Regions from separate parts of the Homo sapiens genome. Here region 1 is linked to region 2. The links are contacts of gene promoters, found by promoter capture Hi-C in blood cells and fetal thymus (Javierre and others, 2016). All regions are on one chromosome and are shown on one strand. Each heading gives the region's core, a stretch centred on a gene start or on the middle of the fragment in contact. The rest is flanking DNA. Distances are from core to core; before and after follow the strand shown. Region 1 overlaps PRDM5 (PR/SET domain 5). Region 2 holds the start of NDNF (neuron derived neurotrophic factor).

What was found. The method cuts DNA at HindIII sites, captures the fragments that hold promoters and counts their contacts. A CHiCAGO score of 5 or more calls a contact.
Region 1: a fragment that was not itself captured here is called in contact with the fragment with the promoter of NDNF in region 2 in 3 of 17 cell types (megakaryocytes, naive CD4 T cells and naive CD8 T cells); the score reaches 6.3 in megakaryocytes.

Annotation. Positions count from the first base shown.
Region 1 is chr4:120,711,860-120,716,481 of GRCh38, reverse strand. The region is part of intron 14 of PRDM5 (PR/SET domain 5); the gene reads left to right. Among named protein-coding and RNA genes, the nearest start is that of PRDM5, 210 kb to the left of the region's middle. The HindIII fragment of the contact is 1,564 bases long and covers 1,544-3,107 here.
Region 2 is chr4:121,069,374-121,073,785 of GRCh38, reverse strand. It overlaps NDNF (neuron derived neurotrophic factor), which reads left to right and starts at 1,251. Exons shown (of 4, transcript NM_024574.4): 1 at 1,251-1,793. NDNF-AS1 (NDNF antisense RNA 1) reads right to left here and starts at 2,424. Exons shown (of 3, transcript NR_187407.1): 1 at 2,206-2,424; 2 at 1-36. The HindIII fragment of the contact is 1,993 bases long and covers 1-1,942 here.

The DNA.
Region 1 (4,622 bases), core at 1,076-3,575, 360 kb after region 2:
GGGCCTTCATGTGCTTCTCTTAGGGCAAAACCCCAAAGACTCCCTGGCTTTAAATGGTTCTAGGTAGAGAAGAGGGAGTCCAGGCAGATTGAAAACTACTTAATCAAATGGATTTCTCTTCAAACTTCTTTAATTGGAAGAACCTTTCTAACACTACACATTTTATCCTTTACTTTTCTGCCAACATGCATATATAAATACATGGTTGTTGTACTTGTAGTATATTGTGAAGGAGAAAATAAGGAAAGGTAATATAATTTCAACGACATTTGTAAGTGAAGTATATTAAATTAATCAGCAATAGCATGTATAAACATGTGAAAAATATCAGTATGTGAGTGGATAATGTGTGTGTGTAAGTATATAAGACATTATTCAGCTAAAGCAATGATTAATACGTGTTTGCATTTTTAAACCTCTTGTGATAACTGCAAAGCCCTCATGCCTCACCAGAATCTCAGTATACTAGCAGGGAGTCAGTCTTTTAAGCATCTGTATGAGCAATGTCTAGGATACTCACCCAGATAGTGTCTCCTAAGAGGAAATTTGGGAAGGAGTAAAAGGGTTGTTCTTAATCTTTGGTGCCCAGGTCTTGATTTTCATTGCCTTTTCTTCCCTGATACCTCTTCTTGCTCTTAGGGTGGCATTTTGACAGTTCTGTCTTAGGATGTTCTCTGCAAAACCCTCACCTGTCATTGGCAGCTGCCATGGTGCCATGCCCATCATGTCTTCACAACTTCTGGTCTTACAAGTAAAGTGTAGGGATTAAGCTTTTTGTTTCTTCTCATATACTTCATAATAATGTCTTTGTATGTTTTTTTAAAATAAAAGTTTAAGTAGAATATTTGGATATAATACAAGCCTTAATAAGAAATCCCAGCAACTTCAAACAAATTCTGATCCAAATACTTAAAACTACCTTTTCATTTTCAAGTTTTTGAAAAACTGTGGAATATTTGAAGAAATATTTGAAGTTGTGAAAAGACATTATGTTTATTCAGACTAGAGGGGAAAGCACATTATATTTTTTGGACTGCAAAGAAAATTGAACATTTTTCCTGATGACTGGGGAAGACTCATTAAACATATTTTTTTACATCTTTAAAATTACACACATAGTTACTTTCATTTCTGGCAACATGGTAGATACTCCATATCCCGGAAAAAAGGCCCTATAAGGAGCACTTATTAATGCTGGATAAAACAAAGCAAACAGAAAACATCTGAACTTGTAAAAAAAGTAATGATAGCCCTCAGGATTCAATGAACAAAAATGGAGCTGAAAGTGAGTGATAAGTTCAAGTTGAGGATGCAGCACCTGTAGGGTAATCTCAAGACTTGATTTTTCATGGTGTCAGGGAAAATGAGACAAACTGTATGTTCAGATTATAGGGCAAGATGGAATCCCATACCACTTTTATTCTTGGACTCTAGAAATGCTATGCTCAAAATAAAATTGGGGACTAGACATAATCTGCCTTTGGTAAAGGTTGGTACTTGAGACATTTAACTGTTTTGGAGTAATTGCTGGCTAGGGAAAGCTTTCTTCTTAGAGTTTATAACCGCAATCCTTCCCTCAAGTGTGGAGTTCAGACTTACAATATCTGCCTCACCAGAAAACCCTAAGGCAATAAATCAACTTAAAACAGTCTTTGATTGATAGCATCCCAGAGTGCCTGGCAGCAGCAAACACAAATGCTGTCTGGAGGGACTTACCCTCAACCTAGGGGTCACAGGATTTTAACAGATAAAGACCACCAAACGTGTCCTCACTATTTCAAATCCCAGACACCCAAGGAAACAAAAGCCACGAGCAGGAGACAGGAGAAACCACAAAAAAGAGAACTAGACTTCCAGACATCTTAAGATAATGCTTTATCAGATAAAGTAAATTATATAAATGCCTAGAATATTTTCAAATAGGCATAAACAACATGCGTTGCTTATGAGAAAAATGAGATTGTATCAAAAATGGAATTGGGAAATAAGCAAATAAAACTTCTAAAGGTTAAAAATATGATAACAGAAATTAAAAGCCCTAGGGTCCCATTAAACAGCAAGCTGAAAAGAGAATTGATCAACTGATTTTTAAAATCAATTGACTTTAAGAAATTAGAGTACAACAGAAAGAGATGGAAATGTTAAAGAGATATTAAGAAATATGAAGAGTAAAATTAGTCTATTATATATCTCATTGGATTTGTAGACTTTCATTCAACAACAAATGAGAAAAGTAGTCATATTCAGTCAAAAACAATTTGCCACCAACAGATCCTTGGAAAATCAGATACATAAAAAAGCCTGAAAAGTAAAGAAATTGTTAATCATGTGTAAAGCTAAATCACGTTGATTATATAAAATGATAATGATTTCATATTAGGCATTGCAATGGACTGAATATTTGCATTCTCCCCAAATTCTTATGTGAAATCCTAACCATCAGTGTGATGGTATTAGAGAGTGGGACCTTTGGGAGCTGATAGGGTCATGAGGGTATAGCTGTCATGAATGGGATTAGTGCGCTTATAAGGAACTGAAGAGACCAGAGTACTTTCCTTCCACCATGTGAGGACAGGGAATTCACAACCCAGAAAAGGGCCCTCATGTGAACCTGACTAGGCTGACACCCTGACCTTAGACTTCTAACCTCCAGAATGGTGAGAAATAAATGTCTGTTGTTTATAGTGACCCAGTGTATGGTATTTTATTACGGCAGCTCAAAATGACTAAGACAAGCATTAAAAATCAAGATATAAATAAAATACTGCTCTAAGTGTAAGAGGATCGTTCTACAGTACCTGTATTATTCAGTAGGAGATAAAACATATGGATAAACTTTAGTTTTAAACATACAAAGTAAAATATTTTAAGGATAACCATTAAAAGGAAAGAAATAGAGATAATAACTTTTAAAGTAGTACCAGGGGAAAGGATCAATCTAAAACATGTAATAAAATATATGGGAAAAACTTGTAAAACAAATAGGATAATAGTAGTGCACAAAATAAATGTTGGAAATATAGTCAAGTATATCAGTAATCACAAATTTGTAAAGAGGCAAAACTTGCCATCTTAGATAGAAGTAATCTTTGGATCACAAAAAAGCTTGGGTTAAAAAAATCTAGTCATATGCTGTTTATAAAAGTCACTGCCCATGCATAAGGATATAGGCTGTTTGAAAGCAAAAAGATGAGTATAGCAGGCAAATACTAATTTTAAAAAGCTTTTATAGCTATATGGCAGTCATATTAATTTCAAGGTAAAAAAGAATTATTACAGATAGAAAAGGTCATGTCAAAATGATAAAAGGTTCTATTTTCCAATAGCATAATAGTTTAAAATTTGTATATACTTACATACCTAATGAAAGTCTCAAAACATCTAAAATAAAGTGATAGAATCACAAGGATACAGTGAATATTGGAGTATAAAATGGTTTATTAGCTTGGTTTATTAACTTTGCAGAGTTATTTGTTTATTCATAGAAAAGTTGAAGATTCAGTCCCACATCTAGGTACACATGCCTTAGAGAATTGCTTTCACCTATATTCAAGTGTACAAGATTTTTTCAGAGGAACATTATTTATAAGAGTGAACAACTGGGAATAACTTAGCTATCCATCACTGGAGAATGTATATAAATAAATTGTGGTATACAGCTATTTAATGTCATATGCCCAACATTGAAAATTAGTAAATATGAGCTACATATGTTCACAAAAATGAAAGCGAGGACTAGAAACTTGTGAGGATAATGTTGAACAATGATAAAGTACATCTCAACAGAACACACACAAAAAGTGGATACGGAATGATAGTATTTACATACTTTCAAATGGCAAAATAATACTCTATCTTAAGGTTCCATTCATACATAGGTAGTAACAATGTAGAGAAAGGCAAGGGAATGGTACTTAACATATCTGAGGGAGCTGTCATCCCTGAGGAGATGGGAGAGTGCTGCAGGTGGTGGGGGAGGAGGCAATTGAGAGCGGCACCTGTATTGAAAAGGTTGGACTTCTTAGGCTAGTTGGTGGGCAGATGTATGTCTCTCTGGTTATTTACATACTGTTTTTTATAGGTCTGCAAAAAAAGTTATAGATTTTTTGATACTAGAGAGAAAATATAAATACAGCTTGTTAACAAGAAACATGCATACACTATCTCAATTCAAAAATGTTTTTGTTTTCTTTTTGAGAGGGAGTTTTGCTCTTGTCGCCCAGGCTGGAGTGCATTGGAGTCATCTTGGCTCACTGCAACCTCCGCCTCCTGGGTTCAAGCGATTCTCCTGCCTCAGCCTCCCGAGTAGCTGGAATTACAGGTGCCCGCCACCATGCCCAGCTAACTTTTGTATTTTTAGTAGAGACGGGGTTTCACCATGTTGGCCAGGCTGGTCTCAAACTGCTGACCTCAGATAATTCGTCCGCCTTGGCCTCCCAAAGTGCTAGGATTACAGGCATGAGCCACCATGCCCAGCCCAAGAATGTTTATAGCAATATTTTTGAAGATATATTTGATTAAAAAAATGGATCTCACTGCAAATTTACCTAAATCTGAACGAAACTTTTTGATGATGCACTAAGTAGTAACTTGCAAGCTGTTGGAATGGAATAATATTAATT
Region 2 (4,412 bases), core at 2-2,501:
GATACAATGAGGACTTTTCTCACCTCATTGTCTCATCTGCAAAAAATATGCTTGCACAGTGATCTGAAATGTCCTTTTCAGTGTTTAAAAATTTTACAAAACTATTTTATGTCGTGTAAACGGTTTTATAAATCCATTTCCTGCAGTGTTTTCATCTAGGAACCACAAAACTTTAGGAGCTGCATTGGTCCACCCTCTGTGACCAACTGTTTAGCAAAAAAGATCATAGTTCTTAATATGACCGGGATAAGGCTGATTTTCATCCTACCTACCTTAATTTCATTGTGGCAATAACAGAACTAGTGTTTTCAATACTGACACTATATCTTAATAAATAATTATATATTATTAGAACTTATATAAAACCAGGTTTGCTGGAAATCAGGTTCTCAGTTGCAAAAATGAGATCACCAAATCATTCGGTACTTTTTTTTTCTTGGTTTTCCTAAGCCCAGGCCAGGTTGCTAATTAGGTAACTTTTTATCATAATTACCTAGTCAGCCTTAATGGCTTCACACACTCTGCTCCGTTTCACTGGTCCTGTAGGGCCGCTTTTTCAATTGTTAAAACAGCTGCTGAGTTTCAAATCGGAGGAGGCTCGGTCTGCGCCGAGGGGGAAGCGCTCCCTGAGTGAAGGCTGTGATAGGCAGGCGTTCGGGTGAAAAGTGGGACATGAATGCACAGTTTGCACACTCTGCTTTCCGCCTCCAACCACCAACCTTCTGGATTTAACACGTCCCCCTCCCTGCCCCCAGATCAACCCCAGAGTTTCCCTCTATTGTGCACCCCGGTCTGCTTGACAGTGTGATGGTCCCGCGTGCGCGTCTCCTGGGTTTTGCAGCTTTGTCGGGGGCTCGGTGGGCCTCCTTCATTCTCCCCGAGTGGCGCTAAGGTTAGGACAGCAGCGTGTCCCTCGCGATGCCGCCCGCGAGGGTCCTGTTTGGGGAGCGCTGGGTCGCTGAGCAGGGTGGTGTGTGTGTGAGAGAAAGAGAGGGAGGGAGGGCTACAGGGAGAGAGAAAAGGAGGGAGAGGGTGTCTGTGTGTGAGTGTGTGTATGTGTATGAGTGTGTGTGTGTGTGTGTGTGTGTGCGTGCGCGCTGGCGCGCAGCGGGAGGGAGAGAAGGAGGGACGGAGGGGGAGGCAACGGGCAGAGGAGGGAGGGGGCGGGCGGGCAGCGGTGAGGCGGGAGGGGTTAGGGCTGGGAGGGGAAGAGACTCCGGGCTTCAGCAGTGACACTCGGGAGCGAACACACACTCCCCACTTCCAGCCGCGAGAGAGTGGAGCTAACTGAGCAGCGCACCCGCCACGGCCGCTGCCGCCCCGTGCGCCCGGCTCTCCCAGCACCCCGCGCGGCGCTCCAGCCAGGCGCCTGTGCGACTAGCGGCGGCCGGCGAAGCCCGCGCCAGCCCCGCGGGTCGCTGCGGCATCCTCCCGCCGCCCAGCCCCCGCACGCTCCCTGCAGTTTAAAAGGACCTCCCGCCGCTTCTCGGCGCTGCCCCGGGATTCCCCAGCCCCGCGCGGCTCCCTACTCCACTTCGCAGCAACTTCGGCGACCGCGCGCCGCCCGCCCTCGCCCGCCTTTGAAGTTTGCTGTGCCGACCGCAAAGTTGGGACACTTCAGCGGATTGAATTTTTCTCTTTTATCTGCCTCCGTCCCCGCCCTCCAGGCTTCTCGTTCCTGGATATTGGTGCTTAGCATCTTGGCAGGGTCCGGGGACGTGGACTATTTCGCACACCACACCACGGGGAGGGATTTTTTTCTATTTTCCCTACGAAAAACAGATCTTTTTAAGGTAAGTGGGGAGAGGAAAGCAATGCCCCAGAGACCCGACGCCTTAGCCCGCCACCCTGAGACCTAGCACAAGGAGCGTTCACGCCCGAAGGGTCATCCGAGATGGGGGCTCGAGGCACGCGCCCCCAAATCTTCAAGGCCCAAGAAGCTTCTCAAGGGCGCCCTATCCGTAGGAGCTGAGGGCATGAGGGGCAGGAGCAGGTTTCCCTCGTTTTTTTTTTTTTATTGTTGTTGTTGTTTGTTTGTTTGTTTGTTTTTAATTTAGCTGCTTTCGAAGCTGGGCGGCCCGGAGAGATGTGAGGAGGTGGACAGACAGCGCAAGGGCGGGGAAGACCTGGGACCCGGGAGCTCGGGGTGCAGTGGGGTCTGGGGAGCCGCGGAGCCTTTATCCCGGACTTAGCCTGGACACTTACTTTGCCCGCCTGCCAAGAGGGCTGTTGCCTCCCTTTCCAGGTTCATGCCCTCCGCCCGCCGCTAGGGAAAGTCTGCGGGACTGGGGTTTTGCAGAGGGCGTCTGCGTGTAGGGCGAAAAGCTAGAGGTCCAGGCAGCGCACGAGTTCTTGGTGGGCGTCTGGGAGCTGCGCAGCCGGGGCCGGGAGTTCGGTTGGCCCGACCCCCAACCGCTCTGGCTCCTCATTTGTCCTCTGCGTGGTAGGCGAGCATCGTTATAGAAACTTCCTTGGGCTGAGCGAGGTGGCCTGGGACCGGCTCATACTTTCTTCCGGAGAGCAGAGCGGCCACCGAGGTGACGCCCCCTACGGCCCCAGCCAGGAGACTCGGCTTCGTGCCCTCGTCCTGTCTGTGCGTGAGTTGGGGTTCGCTCTCACCCGCGCTACCTTTCTAACTGAGCGGAGTCGCCGCGGCCCCGATAACCTAGGAGTCCGAACGAGTGATTGCAGGTCCCAGCTGTTTTCTTGGAGGCACTTTGCAAACTGCTGAATTTGGAGTGCGGTTTCGTTGCATTGTGCGCTCTCGGTTCACCTTTCTGCCCGCACCCTATCCCAGGCCCAGGCGTGAGAGCTCCCGGCAGTTCCCCGGACCCGCCCCGCATCAGCTCCTCGGAGTTTGCCGCGGGCACCTCTACGCTGTCTCTGAGCTGTCCCTCCGGCCAAGTTGCGGTTCCCCTCCTGGCCCCCTTCGGGGCGCTGTCCATTTCTTGCTCTTGGGTACGGGTGGCTCCCTAAAACCAAGACCTTGAGCGGGAAATGAACCTGAGTGTATGTCTGGGTTTTGTTGTTGTTGTTATGTTTTTTCCTTCTTTTCTTTAAATTTATTTACAGAGTTCTTTTTAGCAACTTTGTTGGGTTGATAAATTTGCTTCTCATCTGTCGATCCCGCTAAATCACAAAGAAGAGTTTATTTTTTCATTTAGTTGCTGCTTTCCCCAAACACACTACCCTCTCTTTCCCCCCTCCACCCCTCCTCCTGCTGCCTCGCTTCCTGAACCCTTTTTCTTTTCTGACGGAGGGAATCTCCGCACCTCCTCCTCTCCTCCTCCCACCCGGTCCCTGAGCGCCTGTGAGAACCAGGGGAGTCATCAATGGAAATAAATAGGACTCCGCTCCATTCTCCGCCCCCTTCAAACAAGTAAAATCCTCCCTGGGTTCGGAGAAGTAGAGATAAAACATCCCTCCCAAGGGAGCGGTTGCAGGGGATTTGATGGGATTGAATTGTTTTATTATCTTGAAAGAAGTGATGGATGGATCCGAGAGGGAATATGTATATAAAGCAGAGTGTAGTGAGGGCGATCGGTATGATTATTCATTATTGTTTGTTAAGAGTGATAATAAGGCCGCAACCTTCGCTCAGACTGTGTTTATACTGGGGTTTGAGTTTATGTCAGTCTCTTATTACAGTGGTTTCAGAAAGTGAAAACACCAAAACCGTATTAATTCTTCAGTCATTCTGCATATGGGATTAATCAAATGTCAAAAAAGATACTGTCGTTTTACCACAGTTTTAATCTATGATCTTTTAGAAGGTTGCACTCTTATAAAATGTCATTTGCCTCCATCTGTCTTCTTAAAGTTTAAAAAACTTGGCAACATAATTAATTATGGTCCCAATTCCCATTTTCAATCTAAACCTATATTCAGGATTATATTAAAATACCCCATCATTTATTCCTCAGAAGTGACTCTTATGAGTTTAAACTCTTGGAGGGGAGAGAGGGACAACTGGGAATGAGGGGCCTAGGAGTTAGATAAATTAGTACTATTTCAGATTTCTCTAAAAATTCCTTTACTTCTTCCTTTAGAGAAAGAAATTACAAGGTCCTTCTCTGCACAGTTCATCACTTCAGTGAATGCCCTTAATCTTTACCACACACTTGAAACATAACAGCTTGCAGCCTTGTCTGCATTATTGCTTTCATTTTTGTGTCAGGACATTTTATTCATTAAACCTGTATGTCAAAGACTTAGGCTTAGTGTGGCAGTAACACTCTGTTTTAATTAGTAACTATCATAAAAAAGAAGCTAGAACTCTGTAATAGGCCTAAATTGCTATGAATTATGTTTGGTTTAAATTACGCATTTATTTCAGCAGAAATGAAACCATGAATATAAAACATCTTTTAATCACTTGCAGATACAGCTTTTATCTCTTAGGATGTAACAAA